Regions from separate parts of the Homo sapiens genome. Here all the other regions are linked to region 2. Evidence: promoter capture Hi-C in human tissues and cell types (Jung and others, 2019). All regions are on one chromosome and are shown on one strand. The core of a region is centred on a gene start or on the middle of the fragment in contact, and the rest is flanking DNA. Distances in the headings are between cores, read along the strand shown.

The links. Contacts are between HindIII fragments. The study calls those that stand out against the background at their distance.
Region 1: a fragment that was not itself captured here is called in contact with the fragment with the promoter of NKAIN2 in region 2 in 1 of the 25 tissues and cell types used here (hippocampus).
Region 3: a fragment that was not itself captured here is called in contact with the fragment with the promoter of NKAIN2 in region 2 in 1 of the 25 tissues and cell types used here (hippocampus).
Region 4: a fragment that was not itself captured here is called in contact with the fragment with the promoter of NKAIN2 in region 2 in 2 of the 25 tissues and cell types used here (dorsolateral prefrontal cortex and mesenchymal stem cells).

Annotation. Positions count from the first base shown.
Region 1 is chr6:125,754,717-125,757,416 of GRCh38, forward strand. The region is part of intron 4 of HEY2 (hes related family bHLH transcription factor with YRPW motif 2); the gene reads left to right. Among named protein-coding and RNA genes, the nearest start is that of HEY2, 6.4 kb to the left of the region's middle. The HindIII fragment of the contact is 7,524 bases long and covers 1-2,700 here.
Region 2 is chr6:123,802,490-123,805,189 of GRCh38, forward strand. It overlaps NKAIN2 (sodium/potassium transporting ATPase interacting 2), which reads left to right and starts at 1,376. Exons shown (of 7, transcript NM_001040214.3): 1 at 1,376-1,765. The coding sequence starts at 1,712. RefSeq lists an enhancer at 132-181. The HindIII fragment of the contact is 12,261 bases long and covers 1-2,700 here.
Region 3 is chr6:125,098,598-125,101,297 of GRCh38, forward strand. No RefSeq gene overlaps it. Among named protein-coding and RNA genes, the nearest start is that of TPD52L1, 54 kb to the right of the region's middle. The HindIII fragment of the contact is 8,655 bases long and covers 1-2,700 here.
Region 4 is chr6:124,803,931-124,806,630 of GRCh38, forward strand. All of the region lies in intron 5 of NKAIN2 (sodium/potassium transporting ATPase interacting 2), which reads left to right. Among named protein-coding and RNA genes, the nearest start is that of RNF217, 160 kb to the right of the region's middle. The HindIII fragment of the contact is 4,271 bases long and covers 1-2,700 here.

The DNA of each region.
Region 1 (2,700 bases), core at 40-2,539, 2.0 Mb after region 2:
CGTGGGAAAGAACTTTTGGAACAAAAGAAGCACTTGACCCTGGGCTTGTGTTTGCTTTCATAATACTGTGGGAGTAAAGCTTCATTCACAGCAGCCTGGTCAGAGATTTGTTTAGGACTTAAGAAGCGCATGCTGGAATCTGTACAGAAAGAACAAAAAACAAACACACAAACATCCAAACATAAACAGGAGGTTAGAGGTAATCCTTTTCTCCTCCTTCTGCTTCTTTCTTCCTACTCCTTCTCCTCCTCTGTCTTCATTAAATGAAGGCTAAGACTGAAAATAATTCAGCTATTCCAAAGGAATTGACTCTAGAGTTATTTTCATTATTGTTTTCAGATTTTTGCTTGGTCTTGAATTTAGACCAAACAGAACAGTTGAAGTGCAGGTAGGAAGTCTCTACACCAGAAGCCATTAATGGAGCAGAGTCATTCTTGGGGAAAGCAAACAGGAGCAGGCACTCCAGGTCCAGGGCCCTAGAGAGGTGTCCTCTGTACTGGATAGTGACTTAGGGAGTAATTGTCGAGGTGGTGAGAGAGGATCTCATCTCATGCTAAAAACAGCCTTGAGATCCTAGTTCACTCAGATTTCATTATCCCACTTACACATCACAACTCAGACTTGATTTTGTTCCTCTGAATCTTTTTCATCCTTCAAAGAATCCTTTGATATTCACCTTAGCCAAGGGTGTTATTCAGTATATTTAACAACTGAATAAGGAGAAGGTATCAGAAGGATTTAAGGGCTCCAACTAAATCCTGAAGGCCTCCCGGTGCTCAGCATTAACCTTTTACTACACTGTATACGGGTCCTAGATCAGGGCAGAGGCAGGACATTGGAGGGAAGCAACTGTTACCAATATTTAACTCCTGTATGGCCATACCATTGAGGATCTCTAGAACATCAGCCCTGATCTTAACCATCTTTTTCCTGCGTCTAGTAGGGAGGGAGGGTAACCATTGTACAGAGAAGCCCCAATGGGTTGACTTTTCCCAGATTGTACCTTCTCAAGGAACCATCCTGAATGATGGCATGAAATGCAAACATTCTTACATAATAGAAAAGATAACTGGATTAAATCACAGAAGCCAATGATCCAGCCTAGCTTGACCACTGCTGTGCCTCTGACCTAAGAAAAAAGTCTGGGCTGCACTTTGAGGGCTACACTAGCAGCATGAGCGCCAAGGGCCCCTGCAGCTCCATGATTCTGTCTCTACAACTGCTACCTCAGGATGTTAGGATACTGATTGAATTAGTCATGCTACAAGAAAATTTGTTTGATTGCTTTACTTCCCTTAGCATTGTTAGCCACAAGGCTAAGTTTTCTCATTAGGGTTTCAAATATTTGGCATGAGCTGTACTTCTAAAGAGTAATATTGTTCTTAGGCTTTATTATAAAAACTAAGTTCCATCTTGGTTGCTATTCTTGGCCACCTAGACAGTCCTAAAATTTGTCCCAGAATAGTTTGTGAACAGATATTTCCAAGTAGGCTCCATACACGTCACCTGACTGTCAGGCCATTGAAGAGGTCATTGCACTGGAGAATGGCCTTCAAGAAGGGAGCTGGCGGCTGGGTGTGGTGGCTCATGCCTGTAATCCCAGCACTTTGGGAGGCCGAGGTGGGCGGATCACCTGAGGTCCAGAGTTTCAGACCAGCCTGACCAACATGGAGAAATCCCGTTTCTACTAAAAATACAAAATTAGCTGGGCATGGTGGTGCATGCCTGTAATCCCAGCTACTCAGGAGGCTGAGGCAGGAGAATTGCTTGAACCCGGGAGGCAGAGGTTGTGGTGAGCCGAGATCGCGCCATTGCACTCCAGCCTGGGCAATAAGAGTGAAACTCCATCTCAAAAAAAATAGAAAAAATAAAAAGAAGGGAGCTGGCTGTTTGGGTTAACATTGTAAAAGAATACCAACTGCCTCATAGTGCAGTGGTGAAGGGCATCGTATCTGTAGCTGGATTGCCTGATTTCAAATCCTGGTTCTGCCACTGATTAGCTCTGTGACTTTGGGCAAATTACCCCCTGCGAGCTGGTCCAGTTTTATCATCTGTAAAAAGAGGACAGTTGTAGTGTCCATACTATATAACTCATAAGGCTGTTACAAGTTAATTCACTTAAGGCCGATAGAATAGTGCTGGTGTAGAGGGAGTGGTATGGACATGTATGTTACTGTTGGCCCAAGATCCATTCACAAAAGGGAGCTACTTATCATCATTTCCCTCTGAAGTCCACAATAGGATAGGAATTGCATAATTTATATTCCTTTAAGATATAACAGAGAGCTCAGCCATATATGACAACATAGCAGGCAAACCACAAATTTCAATTACTTCATGACCAGTAATGAAAATTCTTAGAAGCTCTTGGGGCTCCAATTCTGTTAGTTCATTCTTTATAGTCTGTCTTGGTATGACAATAGTATCTAGAGAGGATTTAGTAGAATAACCTAAGTTTCGAAATCCCTCTGGATTTCTGGACTCTGTCTATTCTATTCATTACCCCCGTCTTTCTCTCATGGGAGTCAGAAGTCTGCAAAGCCCTACAGAACCCTGAGGACCAAAATGTGAAATCTTTCCATGAATACCTCTTCTTCAGGAATAGCTTTTCATCCTAATCCAAGAGGCTCTGTTTGTTAACTATGTCAGAGTCCTGGGATGATAACTGTTTTTGCTGCTGATCTTCCGTATTTCATGATA
Region 2 (2,700 bases), core at 126-2,625:
TAATCTCTTAAGAAGGGTGCTAGGGAGCTGTTTGCTATTTAGCTCCCTAAACCATCCTCTTATCAATCGCGACACTTCACCCCAATGAGTCAGTTCCTCAGTGGATCTCAACAAATAATCTTCACTTCCTGGAAAAGTTAGGATTGCTTTCCTTAGCTGCCAGGGCTAAAAAGGAAACTTGGTCCTAAATATCCACGCCCCAGGGGCAGCCACTTGGGCCAGCATGTTGCGCCCTTCAGCTTTCCGCCCGCAGGTGGCAGCAGCGGGCTCCGAAGCCTGTCTCTGCAGGTAGCAGCCGCTTCACAGCTTTCAGGCCGGTGCTCAGCGGAGGCTGGTGCATCTCCACTAGGAATCCACACCCAGCTGGGACTGCTGTGAAGCTGAAGTAACTGAGTATTAAACTAGTCTCCGACTCTTTAGTATTTTAAGTGAAAACAAACAACAGTTTGAAGCAGCAACAGCAACTCATTGCATCCCTATTCCCTCCGGTTGCTAATTTTTCCCAACTCCAGCAGCAACTCGGTCCCCTTCCCCAAGCAGGGTCGGCTCCGTAGCTCTCCGCGCTCCGACCCTTCAGATCCTCGGGAGCCCAGGGGAGCCAGGTGCTGGGCGGTGCGTCCGGTGCCGCCGCGCCCCTTCTCGCCACCTCTGGCCTCTCCGCCACTCGGGCTTTCCGGCCGCTCTGGATGCCTCGGTTGCACCCCTGTTCCATGACCCCAGCTTCCTTCCCTAACCCTCCTCTTGGTCCCTTCTCCCCCGAGCGCGCGCGCACACACACACTCGGTTCGCTCCCGCGGAGTGGCTCTGGGAGCACGACCGACTTCAGCTCAGCAAACCGCGGTCATGCCGCCCAGACTCCTCGCCCCGAGGCCCCGGTCCCCGCCGCCGCCGCTTTCGCGCCGCTCCTTTCCGCCTAGACACCGCCGCCTGCGGCCGCCTGGGCGGCAGCCCCTGCGGTCCTCAAAGTTGGCCCCCTGGGAGGGGGCGGCAGGGAGCAGGATGAAGGATTTGTTGTAGGAGGAGGATTCACACATCTGGGCGAAGGGAGGGGCAGCGCCGCTGCTGGGACGCGGCGCGGACCCGCATCATTGCGCGCAGCAGCCGCTGCAGCAGCCGCCGGGGACCGCGGAGCCGGGACGCCCCCGCTCGGCCCGCGCCCCGCTCCCCGCCCCACCCCCGCCCGCCGGGCCCAGCAACGCAGGGTGCCTAGGAGCCGCGGGCTGCGCAGGGAGGCGGGCAGCGGCCCTCGCGCGCTTCTGCCGCCCCCGGAGCCGGCGCGCGGCGAGCGCAGGGCGAGCGCGCGTCGGGCGGCGGCCGCGCTGGGGGGCGTGAGGCGAGCGGCGCGGAGAGCGGCAGGGGCGAAACTTCGCGGGCCAGATGCCCGAGGGCGCGGCGGCGCTGCCAGGCTGCCGCTGCTGCCCCTGCGGGCCCCGAGCGCGCCTCCGCAGGCGGCACTGCCCGCGGCGCGGCGTGTGCACCGAGCGAGTGAAGGTATGTGTGGCGGGCGCGGCTGGAGCTGCCGCCGCCGCCGCCGCCGCGCCAGCAGGTCCTAATGCCTGTCACTTCCCAGGACGCTGGCAGCAGCAGCAGCCCGGAGCCCCCGAGCCCTCGGCAGGTTTGCGTGTCCTTCCCCGCGATCTGATTGGATAAAGTGGGGGCTCGACGGTGGCCGACGTGGGACAGTCTGGCTGTGGCAGGGGTCTCGGAAACCATGGGTTATTGCAGTGGCAGGTGCACGCTTATCTTTATCTGTGGCATGCAACTGGTAAGTGACACTTGGGTCCCCTTATTCTGTAATGTGTCTTTGAGATAGTGGGCAGGGGAGTGCAGCAAAGGGTCTGCCATTGACTAGAATGGACGAAAAAGATAAAAGAGAAGGTGACAGATATATTGCCTATATTGAAGATGATTTCAGGGAGACGCACTCTGGGGTACAGGAGAGGTGAGCCTTTCCGTTCCCACCTATTTCTGTCCCTTTTAAGACAGTTTGGCAGGTGCGGGTTAAACTTGTCTTTAATTTCTTTAGGAAAAGCAAGATGTAGCTCTTGTTCTTTATGCTTTGCATTCCTATTCATGTAACAACGTGATTGTCACCTACAATTTACCGTACAGGTTGTTAAACAGAGGAATACGGAATTTTGGACTTTTCTTCTCTATACTAATTTTGCAGTATCTTTGTTTCTTCATAGACATGTTTTTTTTCTTTTTTTAAGGAAAATGTTGTCTTTAAGTATAATGCTCTAAAAAAACCACTGTTTAGGGCACATGGTATCCTTACAACAGTCTAATTTAGACTGTTTGAGTTTTAGCCACATTGAGTTTTTAAAGTATGCAGATTGAACAAAAATACTTAGGTGAACTCAGCAACACCATTGTCATAGACGGAACCAGTAACCTTTAAATCACAATTAACACAGACAATTCCAAGAAAAACTATTCTGTCTTACATTATGCATATTATTGCTCCTGAAATAGATACTGTTGTCTGATCCTATAGGATGGAGAATTCTATGTACTTTTTGAGGAATGTTGTACAGTTGCAAAGGGGCAAGGAACCAATAATGGAAAACGTCATGTCTCTGAATTTCAATTCCCTAAGGGCAATGGAAGGAGGGTCTGAGTAGAGAGTTGAGAGGTGAAAAATACACCACTCTAAGTGGTTAATTTGAGGTAGGAGCTACTTGCTCACACTTGTCATTA
Region 3 (2,700 bases), core at 67-2,566, 1.3 Mb after region 2:
ACATTAAACAGAACTCTTCCTTCCACCATGCTCTATTAATATAATCACCAACAGATTGGTTATTTATTTTTGCTTATATTATGCATGAGGCCCTCTAGCAAGAACGTGAATTCCATGAGGTCACGGATCATGTTCTATTCATTTTTGGGTCCCCTCCACCGTCTATGGTAACTGGCAGGTACATCATAGGCATTGAAACGTTTGAGGAACAAATTACAAAACTATAAAACAAAAAAGTTTTATAAGAGACGTGCCCAAGACGCCTCAACTTCAGAATGGTGAAGCCAGGGATTCCAACTGGGTCTCCCTTCTCCAGAGTTGTAAGTGCACTAGGTTAGAATCAGCGGAAGAGTGGGAAATGGGAAGAACACGAAGCTGGAAATGGGAAACCTTAGTTCCAGCCTTGGTTTTCATCCTCCAACTGGCATGCTAACTTGCCCTCTCTGGGCTTCCTAGGTCTCTTATTCCTTATATTGGAGGTGTTGTTATGGATAATTTCAAAACAAATCTTTATCTAGCGCCTACTATGCGTTCACATAGTCTGTTCACGTGTATGTAATCCTTACAACCCCTCTGTGGTGTTATTAGTATCCTCGTTTTATAAACAATGTGGGAAAGAAAACAACAAAGCTAAGCCCAGCTAAACTAAAAAATAAAAAATAAAAAATACAGTTCAATGGTTTGTTTGAGGTCACATAGCAAAGGCTCAACTCAAACTCAGGTCTCCTGCTTGCCAGTCTGCGGTTCCTGCCATGGGGAAATTCTGTTATCTTTGAAGAAAATAATAAGTAAGGGAAGAGAGAGATGCCCTTTCACAACTGCAAAATTCTCTCCTCCCCAGTTTCCAGCTCCCATCATCAACAAAGAAAACCACGAAAACAAAAACAAATCCGGATTGCCTTTGTCCACAGTATAGAGGGCGGGGGCGGGGGCGGGGGCGAGGGCGAAGGCGAGGGCGTCGGCGGGGCTGCAGCCTCCACGCAGAGACCACTGATGGCTCCGCGCCGCTCAGTTGATCCCTTCCCACTGCACGGAGCGGGAGACTAAAGGCCCACTGCCCATGGCTGCGAAAACCTTCCTTCGGGAACGCGGAGCTAGTGCACGGGGGCATGTTCTTCCCCCGCAGCCCTGGCAAGCAGAGGCCGGCGGCCTGTGGCGCGGGGCAGTTGTGCTGGCTGCCGGGCGGGGCTGCTCTGGGTCTGGGTGCACGGAGAGGAGCGCGGAGTGAAGCGCACGGTGCACACTGCGGGGCGCTGCTTGTCACCTCCCTGCCCCTCCCTCTGCCCTCCCCCGCTGTCCGGAGCACAGTCCCGGGAGGGCGGATGTCCCCTGGGAAGATGCGCGAGGAGAGCGACTGGGAGGCAGCTAGCAGCACCTGCGTGTGGGCAACACGACCCGAGGCTGTCTCCATTGCCTGCGTGCTGAAAGCATAAAAGCTTTTTTTTTTCTTTTTTTGAGGAAGTAAATGTGTAAATTAAATTACTTTGGTGGGGGTTAGAAAACAGTTTTCCTCAGTGTCATGGTGACATCTTCCATCTGCCAGTTCACTTTTCATAAACCTGCTGATACATTTTCTACATCTCATTAAAAAGGTAACCCAAAAGAAAAGTAACGGGGGGAGAAGGAGATGAAAGGGAGAGAGAAAGGAAAGACAAAACGAAGAGAAAGTTAAAAAAAATAGACTAGGAAAGAGGGCCCACCAGGAACCAGGAGGAGCCCTGGGGATGGGGTCGGGACGAAAGCTGGCAAGAATTTCGGCTGAGTTCCTTTAACAAGTAGAAACGTGCGGGGTTGTGTGCGATTTTCCTGGAAAATCCTCACAACCCTATGAGATAAACATTATTCCCATTTCAGAGATGAGGAAAGTGAAGTCAGGACAGAGTTGCATCATCAATCTGATTTGAATACCAAGGGCAAGTTTTTTCCCACTACATCAGGGTATCCTGATCCGTTTTAAACTATTAGAATCACCGTTGTTGCATTATTTATTAGCCTTGACAGAGACTGAATAACCTCCCCCATCACAGAGTCTGCAAGGACAGAGGTGTGATCTAAACCTGGGCCTGGGAGCCCTGAGCTATCAAGCTAGACTGCTTCTCAGAGCCCTTCTCTTGTTAACCAGGGACTCTGAGGCAGGGTACCCAAACTGTCCTTTGACATCTGCAACTCTAAAAGAGTAATTGGAAATTGGGGAATAATAACACAACAGATAGAAGTTTTTGTTCCCATCAAATGAGACAGTGTATATGAAAGTACATAGCATAATACCAGTTATTTTCTTTCTGACATTCAATTCATTGAAAGTTTATTCAACATTACTTATTCAGTTTATTAGTAGTAGTAGTAGTAGTAAGCATGTTTAGGGCCCCTCCTGTGTTATTAGACATACCCTGTATGTGGATCTTGGTGAAGGCTGGGCTCCAATCCTGGTCTTGTGGAGAGTACTAGGCAAAGATTTAGGACAAATGGATTCCTATCTTGAATTCTTACATTAATTTGCTCTGTGATATTGGCATAGCCACATACCTTCCCAGACTTTGGTCTAAAATCAAGGAGTGCAAGGGTAGTCTCTAAGATCTCTTTCAGCAATGAAATGTGGGTCCATGTAACCTATATTTAAAGTTAGTTCCAACTGTTCAGTTCTATTATTTCTGTAATCCAGACAGGCCCTGTCAAGCAGCTGTGCATCTGCATACTCCC
Region 4 (2,700 bases), core at 18-2,517, 1.0 Mb after region 2:
CTACGTATTACACACATATGACACCTGATTCTCTCAATAACCCTTCGAAGCTGAAATTGCTTGATTATCCTCACTTTACAGAGGAAGAAATTAAGGCTCAGAGCAATTGTGACCTGATTATAGGTCCAATGATGGTAAGAAGTAAAGGCACAACCTGAGCACAGGTCTTCTGACTCCAAAGCCCCCCATCTTGATGCTACCAAACAGATTCTACAACAATGTATCAAGTAGTGGCATTATGATATATCAAGTACTGGCATTATATTATTAAAAGACTACCTGATAACAAGATCCAGGTCTCAGCAGAAAACCATCATTTGTTTCTTAAAATCTCACCTAAGGCACTGCCCTCACTGAGAATTAGCAGATATGAACAAGAACAACAATACAAAATAGTTTATCAAGTGAACCTTATATTTCATTTTTTATTAGGCCTTTAGAACCAAAAGCTTAAAGTGATTTTTCAGCTAACGATATACTTTATTTATTATGATACTATTATAGCTATTGCTTTTCACTTTCATTGTTTAGCACGTGTGAATGTGTTACCAAGCTTAAAATATTAAAGATCTGGGGGAGGAGCCAAGATGGCCGAACAGGAACAGCTCCGGTCTACAGCTCCCAGCGTGAGCGACGCAGAAGACAGGTGATTTCTGCATTTCCATCTGAGGTACCAGGTTCATCTCACTAGGGAGTGCCAGACAGTGGGCGCAGGTCAGTGGGTGCAGCGCACTGTGCGTGAGCCGAAGCAGGGCGAGGCATTGCCTCACTCGGGAAGCGCAAGGGATCAGGGAGTTCCCTTTCCTAGTCAAAGAAAGGGGTGACAGACGGCACCTGGAAAATCGGATCACTCCCACCCGAATACTGCACTTTTTTAACGGGCTTAAAAAATGGCGCACCAGGAGATTATATGCTGCACCTGGCTCCGAGGGTCCTATGCCCACGGAGTCTCACTGATTGCTAGCACAGCAGTCTGAGATCAAACTGCAAGGCGGCAGCGAGGCTGGGGGAAGGGCGCCCGCCATTGCCCAGGCTTGCTTAGGTAAACAAAGCAGCCGGGAAGCTCGAACTGGGTGGAGCCCACCACAGCTCAAGGAGGCCTGCCTGCCTCTGTAGGCTCCACCTCTGGGGGCAGGGCACAGACAAAAAGACAGCAGTAACCTCTGCAGACTTAAATGTCCCTGTCTGACAGCTTTGAAGAGAGCAGTGGTTCTCCCAGCACGCAGCTGGAGATCTGAGAATGGGCAGAATGCCTCCTCAAGTGGGTCCCTGACCCCTGACCCCTGAGCAGCCTAACTGGGAGGCACCCCCCAGTAGGGGCAGACTGACATCTCACACGGCCGGGTACTCCTCTGAGACAAAACTTCCAGAGGAACGATCAGACAGCGGCATTCGCGGTTCACAAAAAACCACTGTTCTGCAGACACCGCTGCTGACACCCAGGCAAACAGGGTCTGGAGTGGACCTCTAGCAAACTCCAACAGACCTGCAGCTGAGGGTCCTGTCTGTTAGAAGGAAAACTAACAAACAGAAAGGACATCCACACCAAAAACCCATCTGTACATCACCATCATCAAAGACCAAAAGTACATAAAACCACAAAGATGGGGAAAAAACAGAGCAGAAAAACTGGAAACTCTAAAAAGCAGAGCATCTCTCCTCCTCCAAAGGATCGCAGTTCCTCACCAGCAATGGAACAAAGCTGGATGGAGAATGACTTTGACGAGTTGAGAGAAGAAGGCTTCAGATGATCAAACTACGAGCTACAGGAGGAAATTCAAACCAAAGGCAAAGAAGTTAAAAACATTGAAAAAAATTTAGACGAATGTATAACTAGAATAACCAATACAGAGAAGTGCTTAAAGGAGCTGATGGAGCTGAAAGCCAAGGCATGAGAACTACGTGAAGAATGCAGAAGCCTCAGGAGCTGATGCAATCAACTGGAAGAAAGGGTATCAGCGATGGAAGATGAAATGAATGAAATGAAGCAAGAAGGGAAGTTTAGAGAAAAAAGAATAAAAAGAAACGAACAAAGCCTCCAAGAAATATGGGACTATGTGAAAAGACTAAATCTACGTCTGATTGGTGTACCTGAAAGTGACGGGGAGAACGGAACCAAGTTGGAAAACATTCTGCAGGATATTATCCAGGAGAACTTCTCCAATCTAGCAAGGCAGGCCAACGTTCAGATTCAGGAAATACAGAGAACACCACAAAGATACTCCTCGAGAAGAGCAACTCCAAGACATATAATTGTCAGATTCACCAAAGTTGAAATGAAGGAAAAAATGTTAAGGGCAGCCAGAGAGAAAGATCGGGTTACACACAAAGGGAAGCCCATCAGACTAACAGCGGATCTCTTGGCAGAAACTCTACAAGCCAGAAGAGAGTGAGGGCCAATATTCAACATACTTAAAGAAAAGATTTTTCAACCCAGAATTTCATATCCAGCCAAACTAAGCTTCATAAGTGAAGGAGAAATAAAATACTTTACAGACAAGCAAATGCTGAGAGATTTTGTCACCACCAGGCCTGCCTAAAAGAGCTCCTGAAGGAAACACTAAACATGGAAAGGCACAACCGGTACCAGCCACTGCAAAATCATGCCAAAATGTAAAGACCATCGAGACTAGGAAGAAACTGCATCAACTAACGAGCAAGATAACCAGCTAACATCATAATGACAGGTTCAAATTCACA